Linked DNA regions of Homo sapiens: regions 2 and 3 are each linked to region 1. The links are contacts of gene promoters, found by promoter capture Hi-C in blood cells and fetal thymus (Javierre and others, 2016). All regions are on one chromosome and are shown on one strand. Each heading gives the region's core, a stretch centred on a gene start or on the middle of the fragment in contact. The rest is flanking DNA. Distances are from core to core; before and after follow the strand shown.

Region 1 (3,942 bases), core at 26-2,525:
CCATTCTTCCAATTTGTTTCACCTCTTGTGGCGTTTTCTTTCCAATCTTTTCATCGTCCCAATCTCCATCTATTTCTGCCTCTTTCTTACCCCATCTCCGCGCCTCCTCTGCTCTCCCTGTTAAATCCCCTCTTCCCTGTTACACCCGCTTATCCCCACTCTCTGGCACTCCCAGATCCCAGGCCTCCCTGTGTTGTGGTGCTCCCTCTGCTCGCCTTGTCACCAGCTGTCCCCTCCAGCTGTCCCAGCACCACGCAGCTCTGTCTGCCCTCGGCCAAATCCTTTCTCCTCTCCCCCACTCTCTGTCTGAGGAGGCTCCTTCTTTGCTGTCCCTCTCCTTATCTTGTTGTCCTGCATCTCGGGACATCGAGCTTTTCTCTACATTTCGCCAATTGCTTTTCTGCCCCTGCTACTTTCTTGACTGCTTCTTTCACTCTGTCGCTGCAAATCTCTCACCCATCCTCCACTTTGCCATCTGTTTATGGGTCTCCCTCATTTTTCTTTTCTCTTTCTTGGTTTTTCCATCTCCTCTCAGTGGCTCTTTGTCTCTCTTTCTCCTGATTCCCTTGGGCCACACATTCACTGGAGGGTTTGTAGTAAGATGTCTGCATGTTGGAGGAGTACATTTTCCAGGGGGTGGAGCTGGGCAGGCAAAAACACCGGGTGTCACAGGACGGGCCCCGGGCACCTCCCCAACGAGGGCTCAAGGGAAGCGGTGACTGCGAAGGGGAGGCCTGGGGAGCAGCAGGGCCCGGCACGAGGAGGAGGGAGGTGGGGGGCGACGGCGCCTTAGGACAGGGGTGGGATGTGCAGGATCCCAGGACCAGGCGGAGGCGCGGCCTCCCCGGGACTGGGTCGGCGGCGCTGCGCTCCAGGGGCCGACGAGAGCGAGGCTGGGAGGCGCCCAGGGCAGGCGGTGAGGACTTTAAGCGATGCGGGGCGGGAGGAGGAGTCAGTAAAGGATTTTAAGCAGGAAAATCCTGCTTAAACGTTTAAAAAACCGGGAAAGGCCGTGTTTACTTGGCCCAAGGCAGAAAGACCGGGGGCAGGGACCAGCCTCAGGGCGACTTTAACCCAAAAGGAAGCGTCTCCGGGCCCACACAGCAAGGCCTATTTACCTGAGGTGGAGGGTGCGGTGCGGAGATTTTAAGTCCGTAGCGACCCCCGGGCATCGGGTGTGCGAATGGGGGACGGCGAGGCGCAGGTTGAGTCTACACAGAGGAACACTCATACGCCATGGTGTGATGCTTGCTCCGCACGATCCACTTCCGGGTCTGTGGGCAACTGCGCGAAGGAAAGCGACCGAGCGGCCCGGGGCGGGGTCCGAGATGGGCGGAACCGGAAAAGGGCGGGGCGTTGAGAGAGCCGGGCTGAAGCAGGGGCCGCCAGGCAGGGACCCCAGGGAAGGAACGGGGAGGAGCCACCGGGGAGGGGTGGGGAGTGACCAAGTGGAGGGACCCGGGGGCGGGCCGGGGAGGAGCCGCCGGGGAAGGGCGGGGAGGAACCGCGGGAAGGGACCGCGGGGGAGGAAGGCGAAGGGACCGCGGGGGAGGGAGGCAGAGGGACCGCCAGGAAGGGACCCGGGGGAGAGGCGGGGCTGGACGGGACACGTTAGGGTCTGCGATTTCGTGTGATGCCCACAGCCCAGCGCCCAGAGCCATCTGTAGTGTCTTGTGGAACGGCGTAGATGTTTCAAACGGTTTCAAGTTAAAAGCACAGTTGTGTAGGTTATTTTGGAAACCAAACTGCTTTCCTCTTAGAATGGAGGCGGTTTATGTTGAAAGCATTTTTTGCTAGCGCGTTTACCCAGTAATGTTATTGACGCTGAAGCAGCCCAGGAGTCTGGGAACATGGGTTGACACGGAGCGGTGATGGCATGCTGGAAAAGTTTCTGCGATTAAAATTAAGTAATTTAAAAGCCCTGAAATTAGCAGTAACTTTTAAAAAATAGATATAAATTGCATTGTCCTTTTTTATACTTACTATTCTATTCCGTGCGAGATGACAACCTCAAACGCCTATACTTTTTTTTTTTTTTTTTGAGCCGGAGTCACGCTCTGTCGTCCAGGCTGGGGTGCAGTGGCATGATCTCTGCTCACTGCAACCTCGGCCTCCCGGGTTCAAGCAATGCTCCTGCCTCAGCCTCCCGAGTAGCTAGGATTACAGGCGCCCGCCACCACGTTCTTTAGCGGAGATGAAGTTTCACCATGTTGCCTAGGCTGGTCTCGAATTCCTGACCTCAAGTGATCCACCCGCCTCAGCCTCCCAAAGTGCTGGGATTACAGGCGTGAGCCACCATACCTGGCCCCAGGAACTACTTTCACCTACTGAATATATATTAAGTCCTTTGCCACAAAAAGATAATATACATAATTTATCTCAGAACAATTAAGATATTTACCACTGTAAATGACAAATTCAGACTTAGAGAAGGAAGATTTTATTCAAAAGGACTATTGCAATAGAGAGAATGTTCCAATCACAAGATCTGAAAATGTCCAAGAGACACAAACTAAAAAGCTTTTTTTTCTTTTTTTCATATATGGAGGAGTAAACAAGGCTAGAAAGCACAAGCACAAGTTATGAGGCTGTGGATGAGCACTTGGCATGACTACAGTTATTCAGGGAAAGTTTGTTATGTTATGTTATGTTATGTTAAAAATGTTACATATTTCTTGGAGAGAGTCTTGCTCTGTCACCCAGGCTGGAGTGCAGTGGCGTCATCTCTGCTCACTGCAACTTTTCATCTACCAGGCTCAGGCAATCCTCCCACCTCAATCTCCCCAGTAGCTGGGACTACAAGCACACGTCACCATGCCTAGTTAATTTTTGTACTTTTTGTAGAGACGGGGTTTCGCCATGTTGCTCAGGCTAGACTCGAACTCCTGAGCTCGAGGGATCCCCCACACCTTGGCCTCCCAAAGTGCTGGGATCACAGGCGTGAGCCACCGTGCCCGGTCTATTTATTTTTTGAGAGAGCATCTTGCTCTGTTGCCCAGGCTAGAGTGCAGTGTCAAGACCATAGCTCACTGCAGCCTTCAACTCTGGAATCAAGTGATCCTCCTACCTCAGTCTCCCAAGTGGCTGGGACTACGGGTTTGCACCGCCACACTCCACTAATTTTTTTACTTTTTGCAAAGGCGGATTCTCACTATGTTGCCCAGGCAAGTCTTGAACTTCTAGCCTCAACTGATCCTCCCGCCCTGATCTCCCAAAGTGTTGGGATTACAAATGTGAGCCTGGCTCATCATGGAATTCAAGACCAGTTTGGGCAACATAGCAAGACTCCCATCTCTACAGAAAATTTTTAAAAATTAGCTGGGCATGGTGGCACACACCTGTAGTCCCAGCTACTCAGGAAGATTGCTTGAGCCCAGGAGTTCGAGGCAGCAGTTAGCTATGATCCTGACACTGCACTCCAGTCTGGGCAACAGAGTGAGAACCTGTCTTTCAAAAAAAAAAAAAAAAGCCTACTCTTGGGAGGGGCTGTTGGCTGTTGTTAAGGAAAAGTTGTTCCAAATTACACTGACAAAGAATGGTTCAGAGGGTTGGGCATGGTGGCTCACGCCTGCAATCCTTGCACTTTGGGAAGCTGAGGCGAGTGGATCACATGAGGTCAGGAGTTCGAGACCAGCCTGGTCAACATGGCGAAAACCCATCTCTACTAAAAACAAAAATTAGCCAGGCGTGGTGGTGCACACCTGTAATCCCAGCTACTCAGGAGGCTGAGGCAGGAGAATTGCTTAAACCAGGGAGGCAGAGGCTGCAGTGAGCCGAGATTGTGCCACTGCACTTCAGCTTGGGTGACAGAGCGAGACTCTGTCTCAAATAAATAAATAAGGCTGGGCGCGGTGGTTCACACCTGTAATCCCAGCACTTTGGGAGGTTGAGGCGGGTGGATCACGAGGTCAAGAGATCGAGACCATCCTGACCAACATGGTG
Region 2 (3,480 bases), core at 192-2,691, 330 kb after region 1:
AAAACCACATCACCAGGCCTTCAATGACGTCCAATGTCTGCCATCTTATTTCCACTCCAGCTCCGCCCCAGGCATAGTTGCCTTTCTTTTTATTGAAGCCTTCTCCTTGCCAAGTTAATTAAAGAGAATGTTTTCTTCATCAAATTAGAAATTACATCCTCAGAGCTTTCCAGTATTTGTAGTTCTTACAGGCCACATTTATTACAAGTTTATAGACTCCAAACTTCTCCACTGAACAGTTAATAAAAAGGACACAGGCTTATTGTAAAATAATTCATTTAGTGCCTGCCATTCTGATTACACTAGAAATTTAGTTCTCCTGCTCAGCGTTCTGTTATGTGACTGTTCAATGCATTACTTAAAACTGCAAGATTGAATAGAGAGATCAGCTTCTGACACTGATGAATGCAAACCACAAGAAACCAAGTCTCCTCTGCAAAATGATGAAAACACTCGCAAAGTCACTAAAATCAATCATTTCAGACTTCTGAAATTTACCAAAGCCACAGAACAAAGTGAAAAGTATCTATCCCACAGAAAGTACCAAACTTCAGTAAGACAGCAGCATTTGTGTCATTTTAATGTGGAGGCATTACCATTACCCTCCATCCTTCGTTCAGTGTAGAGCACTGACCTCTTTTGAAGCTCCTTTTAAACACCTCCTATCAGGCCAGTCGCGGTGGCTCAAGCCTGTAATCCCAGCACTTTGGACGACAGAGCGAGACTCCATCTGAAAAAAAGAAAGAAAAAAAAAAGAGAAAGTGACTTTTCAAGACTGTGATTTATGGTCTCCCCTGGGAACCAACAGTATCTGTGCTGAGAGCAGATATTTGGGTGGAAGGGGCTCTGGTGTGCAGGGCATGCCTTCTGTAGCTCAGTGCTTCTGACAATGGGTCCGAGGGGAGAAACATTGGCATTAACAGGGAACTTGTTAAAGATGCCAATTTATAAATGCTACCTCAAACCTGCAGAATCAAACATTATTACAGTGGGTTGTGGAGTGCCAGATGACTTATATTCACCTTAAAGCTTGAGAGTCAGTGCTTAGCTAAGAGGCTCTCAGCCCAGGCTTCCAGTTGGATCAAATGGTCATATTCAGTTACTACCATCACCTGTGCCCTCCCCATAGCGTCTGTCTATTGGTGTCGGGGGAAACATCCATGCTGTTTCAATTAACTACCCTGCCCCCAGGTGATTCTAGGGTGAGGAGAAGTCCAGCATGAGGGCTTCCATATGCATTTGTGAAGGTTGATGGCAGACTGTTCCAAATGAGAATAATGGTTTCCGTGATATGATAAAAGCAATGCTATTGAATATGATGATGACTGATGAGAAGTTTTGCATAGCATTCGCTGTAAAAAAGCCACTTATAGGCTGGGCACGGTGGCTCACGCCTGTAATTCCAGCATTTTCGGAGGCTGAGGTGAGCAGATCACCGGAGGTCAAGAGTTCAAGACCAGCCTGGCTAACATGGTGAAACCCTGTCTCAACTAAAAATGCAAACATTAGCCAGATGTGGTGGTGGATGCCTGTAATCCCAGCTACTTGGGAGGCTGAGGCAGGAGAACTGCTTGAATCTGAGAGGTGTAGGTTGCAGTGAGCTGACATCATGCCTCTGCACTCCAGCCTGGGTGAGAGAGCAAGACTACGTCCAAAAAAAAAAAAAAAGAGAGAGAGAATTTTCCTGTAAATAATTAAAAAGACTAAGCAGCCCCAGAGATAAGACCTCCTGGGATCATTGTCCCTTTATATTGAGTGATAAAGTAACCTTCCTTGAAGTATATCAATCCATAACCAATCACCTTGCTGCACCCTATGTACTGGTCTTGAATGGAAAATGTGGTGATTCTTCTAAAGCTTCTCTGTCTTTCCGTGTGTGTGAAACCTAAGGGAACGCTGATCCCATTCATTTGGAGTTGATGTTTCCAGGTGGCTATCCTCATGCTTTGTGTTCAAATAAACTCTGTGCTTAATCATATATTCTAAATTTTATTATTTACTGCTGATATCAGTTTCTGTCAGACTGTAGGAGCCTCACCAGAGAGGGCACCTGTCGCTATGTTGTAAAACTCACACTTGTCAGAAAGACATGGGTTAGTGTTACTCCCCGTCCCTCAGAATGAAGCTAATTAGCTGACACAGATGGTCACCTCCATTACCAAGTAGAGTCAGGATGAACTATGTGTGACCAAGAGTGTTGTCAAGTCCTCTTCCCTGAGGACTGATTAGCGTTTATCTTGAAAACATGTCCTTAATGGGTTGTATAGAACAGTAAAGTTTCTTTCTCTTTTTTCAACCTCTTAGCTGTTTGCCTGTATTTCGCATCACAATCTGGTCTAAGGCTTATTTATTAATGAAATGGTTTTAATTTCTTTCTCTATGATCATCGTGGAGATGATTTCTCATTTGGAGAAAGACTTTTTGTTTGTTTTCAATTATATTTTCTCAACAATTAGACAGTGAAGTAAAAAGTATTTTGGGGGGGCCAGGCACAGTGGCTCACGCCTGTAATCCCAGTACTTTGGGAGGCCGAGGCAGGTGGATCACTTGAAGTCAGGAGGTTGAGACCAGCTGGCCAACATGGGGAACCCACCTACAAAAATACAAAAATTAGCCGGGCATGGTGGCACGCGCCTGTAATGGCAGGTACTCCGGAGGCTGAGGCAGGGGAATCGCTTGAACCCAGGAGGCAGAGGCTGCAGTGAGCCCAGTTCCTGCCACTGCACTCCAGCCTGGGCGACAGAGAAATGCTCTGTCTCAAAATAAAAGAAAAGAAATAAGTAAATAAATAAAAGAAAGTAATAGATCTCTTCTACAAATGTGCTGGGACAACTAACTGGATATCCACATGGAAAAGAATAATGTATCCCTATCTCACACAATCAAAATTTTATTTTAACGTTAAAAAATGGAGAAAAAAAGAGAGAGAGACGAGGGAGGGAGTCCTGAGGGAGGGGTGTTACTTTGTCGCCCAGGCTGGCCTGGACCCCCAGGCTCAGCGATCCTCTCGCCGCTGCTTCCTGAGTAGCTGGGAACTCAGGCTCCCGCCCCCGCGCCTGAATCCTTGCTGTGTTTATCCAGCAGGTCGCCCCTGGCTGGCCTGAGCATTCCGTCCCGCATCCCAGGGGGAGGCCCTAGGGAAGTCTCTGCAGCTGAGCACGGGGTGGACTCTCCCTCCTGAGTGAGTGGAGAATAGAAAGGGAGAGGATTTCTGTTCTGTTCTGTGGGCCGTCAGCATGAAATCGTACGTTCCGCCCAGGCAGGGCCTTGCATTTTACATTCTAGTTTGTATCCCGTTCCAGACAATTCCAGGGCTTTTGAGTCCATGCGTCAGCCTTCCTGGGCGGTCTCACCTTCACCACCCGAAAACAGGTGCTAGGAGAGAAGCTGAGAGGAGCACCGGTCACGCCCCGGCCCCGCCCTCTGCCGGCTCTAAAGCGCAAGGTCTCTCCGCCTCGCGCCCCGCCCCTGCCTCGTCCA
Region 3 (3,567 bases), core at 1,016-3,515, 420 kb after region 1:
AGTTAAGATGGTTATTTCAAGCCACTGAAGCCTTGCTCCTTTTATGGCCACAGAGTCCTCTGGGGAGGACAGATGGTGGAAGAATGTGCTTGTTTATATCCTTATCTGGTTGGATGCAGTCTTTATTATTTATTTATTAAGCAAAACATCTTGTCCCTGTTGGCAAAGTGCCCTGTGGAATGCAAGATGGAGTCTTTTTCTAAGATGGAGTTACTTATGTCAAGGGTACTCTATACAGTAGTCTTACCCACACGTTCATAGAAACATACAATCTCATCCATGTCATAATGAAGGCCAAAAACCTCACAGGCGCCCTCCCTTACCTGAGCTCCAGGAGGCTCCCTGATGAGTCCACACAATCACAAATCCAGTCACACCCACCAATGATTCTCTCCCAACAACAGCATATATTTTTTAGGGCAAAGCATCTCACACCCCAGTGTTTGTCTAAATTGCACCATTTCGGAAGCCCCCTGCTCTTTTGCAGACCTTGGTCAAAGTGAAACATTTCACAGGGGTTCAGGCAGTGAGAAATATCCTGCCTAACCACCTGACCACAAGGCGAACAAAGACCCAATTAAAGAAACATTCTCATCATGTCCTACTGGGCAAAGGCCCAACTACAAAAACCATCCCTATCATATCTTTCTTGGCAAAGGTCCAAGGAACATCCTGATGAGATCCCACCGGAAAAAGGGCCAAACCGCCTGATCATAAGAACATCTTGTCAATATCCTGCCGGGCAGCAAGCCATACAGCCCAGGCCTCTCCCGCCCATACCAAGGTAACACTCACAGAGACATCTGAAGAGCCAGGCAGTGCTCCCAAGTCTGGGACAGCATCAGAGAACGAAACGCAAAGTCCTGCCCTTACAGAGAGAGCCTTGGCACAGACCCAGTCAGGACCAGGTCACTCCCGTGGAACCTACTCAAGGTCCCTACACACATGCCTGGAGCTCCCCAATCTACTGGGGGGTGGGGGAAAGGGCAGTGCTGAAACGTCCCCAAAATCTCACATGTAAACACCCTACCTAACACTTTCTAGAGGCATTTCCAGCTCGGGGCTGTATTTCCAAGAACGCTCTGGAGGCACAGCTCTTTTCTAAGGAGGGCCATGTTGCATGCTGGGAAATTTTTGAACTTTTCCCAAATCACAGCTTTTAAGCTTTCCGGGCTTATTATTATTATTATTATTATTTTGAGACATTGTTTCACTCTTATCGCCCAGGCTGGAGTGCAGTGGTGTGATCTCGGCTCACTGCAACCTCTGCCTCCTGGGTTCAAGCGATTCTCTTCCCTCAGCCTCCCAAGTAGCTGGGATTACAGGCACACACCACCACGCCTGGCTAATTTTTGCATTTTTAGAGCGATGGGGTTTCACCATGTTGGGCAGGAGGGTCTCGAACTCCTGATCTCAGGTGATATACCCGCCTCGGCCTCCCAAAGTGCTGAGATTACAGGCGTGATTTCTGGTCGTTTCAGACTACATTTCCTTCCCAGAAGGACGCGGGGACACGCCTTCCCTATGGACGGATCCCAAATGCAAGTTGTAAGCAATTATAACTGTAGGCCCCTAGAGCCTGAACCACTTTTCCCAGGAATTTTTTGTGGTGCGCCTTAGGAGCAAGCAAAGTTTCAGGGCAGGAGAAGGCCGACAGGGCTTCCAGCATTTGAAGATTCTGCCAGTCTGAAATACGCTTTCCCAGAAGTCTATGGGGGGTGCAGCTGCTCTAACAGTGGGAGGAGACACCGACGAAAAGCATTCTGACGGCCGCGCTTCCAGCGCTAAGGATTCCCGCGTAGTGAGCATTTCCCAGAGGTCTCTGGGGCATGGCTCCATTAGGGCCGTGTGCAGTTGCCTGCAGGGAAACACTGATGGGCGCCCTTCCAGATACGTCGATTCCCGGGTTATGAGCTACATTTCCCAGAAGCCCTCAAGGCAGGACGCCCTTAGGGTCGCGTAGAGTTGCATGCTGGGAAATCCTGACAGCCGCTTCCAACTCTGTGGATTTCCGGGTTATGGACTACATTTCCCAGAGGCCTCTGGGTCACGGCTCCATTTGCGCCGTGTAGAGTTGCATGCTGGGAAACACTGACGGGCGCCCTTCCAGCTGCGTCGAAGCTTCTCTGGTTTCGCATTACATTTCCCAGAGGGCCTTGGGGCACAGTCCAATGAGGAGCGAGCCGGGTGGCCGGCTGAGGGGCGTGCTTCATGCTCGCGGGATTTTTAAAAATGGTTTCTCCTGGATCTTATCCCAACTGCGCCTGAGACCTTGTTTCACCTCCTGATGTGCTGGGTGTGGTTAGGCCTCGAGCCGGGAGCTATTTGCCTCCCAGGAGGAAGCCAGGGCAGGGTTCCGCGGGGAATGGCGGTGAGGGAGCCACTCGGGACGCGGAGGCCCTAAAATGAAGAAGCTTCGGCCTGAGGCTTCGGGAGCGGCGAGCAGGGAAGTGGGAGTGTGTGTGAGTGTGTGTGTGTGTGTGTGTGTGTGTGTGTGAATAAGCCAGAGGCTGCCTGGTGGGGCCCCGCCGTGGCCCAGTGACTGAGATAATTGTCTTCGTCTGTGGGGTAATGCGAACAAGCCCCGTTCCCCTAAGCCGTGATGCATGCGGGGTTGACGCGGCCGGGCTCTGTCCCCATAAACTGTGACACAGGTGTGTGTAGACGTCTATGAGGGCCATAGCGCCGGGCTGTAAGGGCATCTGTAGGGGTGACGCAGCCGGGCTGTGTCTCTGCACCTCCGTTCTGTGCGAGGTCAATGCTGGTGGGGTCTGCAGAGGTGGCACGGCCAGGACGGGTCTCCGTGTCTCTGAAATGTGCCTTTGCACTTCTGTCAGGTTGACAGGGACAGGCAGTGTCCCTCTGGTGTGAGCGTCTGTGGGTGTGAAAGGGCCAGCGAGTGTGCGGCTGTGACTGGTCGGGATCGGGCCTGGGTGCATGGCCTTTTGAGTGAGCACAGGTGTGTGCGACCATGTCACCTGTCTTTCTAGTGTCTCCGTTGCTTCCTGTGCCTTGGCCTTCCAGCCATGTGGTACCTGCTAGGGAGCAGTGGTCCCAAAGTGACGTGAGAGGCTCTACGCTATTGTGAAAATGACCAAGAAGAAGGCTTCACAAGTCACGAGATGGCAGTTTTGGAGCCAGAAGTGCTCTCCGTGCACACTACCTGGACGACAAGAGGAAGTAACCTCAAGAATAGAATTCCTTTTGGGGAAGAAAGAGGTACCTGACATGGGAGGCGGGGAGGTGGTGAGAGGGGCAGCTCCATGTTTCAGAACCCCAGTTCCTAGAGTTTTCCAGCATTTCTCTGAAAAACTCACATGCCTGTGCCCTCTTATTTCTGATTGATTTTAACTGTGGTCTGGGGACAAGTGTGCCCTATTTTCTTTCTTTGTTTTTTTTTTTTTTGAGACAGAGTCTTGCTCTGTCGCCCAGGGCTGGAGTGCAGTGGTGCGATCTCGGTTCCCAGGTTCAAGCGATTCTCCTGCCTCAGCCTCCCAAGTAGCTGGGACCACAGGCGCACGCCACCATGCCCAGCTAATTTTTGTATTTTTAGTAGAGACGGGATTT

What was found. The method cuts DNA at HindIII sites, captures the fragments that hold promoters and counts their contacts. A CHiCAGO score of 5 or more calls a contact.
Region 2: a contact is called between a fragment that was not itself captured here and the fragment with the promoter of ZNF160 in region 1, in 1 of 17 cell types (fetal thymus). The highest score is 5.1, in fetal thymus.
Region 3: a fragment that was not itself captured here is called in contact with the fragment with the promoter of ZNF160 in region 1 in 4 of 17 cell types (fetal thymus, naive CD4 T cells, total CD8 T cells and 1 more); the score reaches 6.9 in fetal thymus.

What each region holds. Positions count from the first base shown.
Region 1 is chr19:53,102,147-53,106,088 of GRCh38, forward strand. ZNF160 (zinc finger protein 160) reads right to left here and starts at 1,276. Exons shown (of 6, transcript NM_001322131.2): 1 at 1,119-1,276. RefSeq lists a silencer at 1,319-1,728. The HindIII fragment of the contact is 3,069 bases long and covers 1-2,518 here.
Region 2 is chr19:53,428,437-53,431,916 of GRCh38, forward strand. The region is part of intron 9 of ZNF765-ZNF761 (ZNF765-ZNF761 readthrough); the gene reads left to right. Among named protein-coding and RNA genes, the nearest start is that of ZNF761, 1.8 kb to the right of the region's middle. RefSeq lists a silencer at 3,425-3,480. The HindIII fragment of the contact is 828 bases long and covers 1,028-1,855 here.
Region 3 is chr19:53,518,866-53,522,432 of GRCh38, forward strand. It overlaps a transcript of ZNF331 not described here. Among named protein-coding and RNA genes, the nearest start is that of ZNF331, 17 kb to the right of the region's middle. RefSeq lists enhancers at 859-1,633, 1,634-2,407, 1,898-2,097, 2,408-3,181. The HindIII fragment of the contact is 293 bases long and covers 2,120-2,412 here.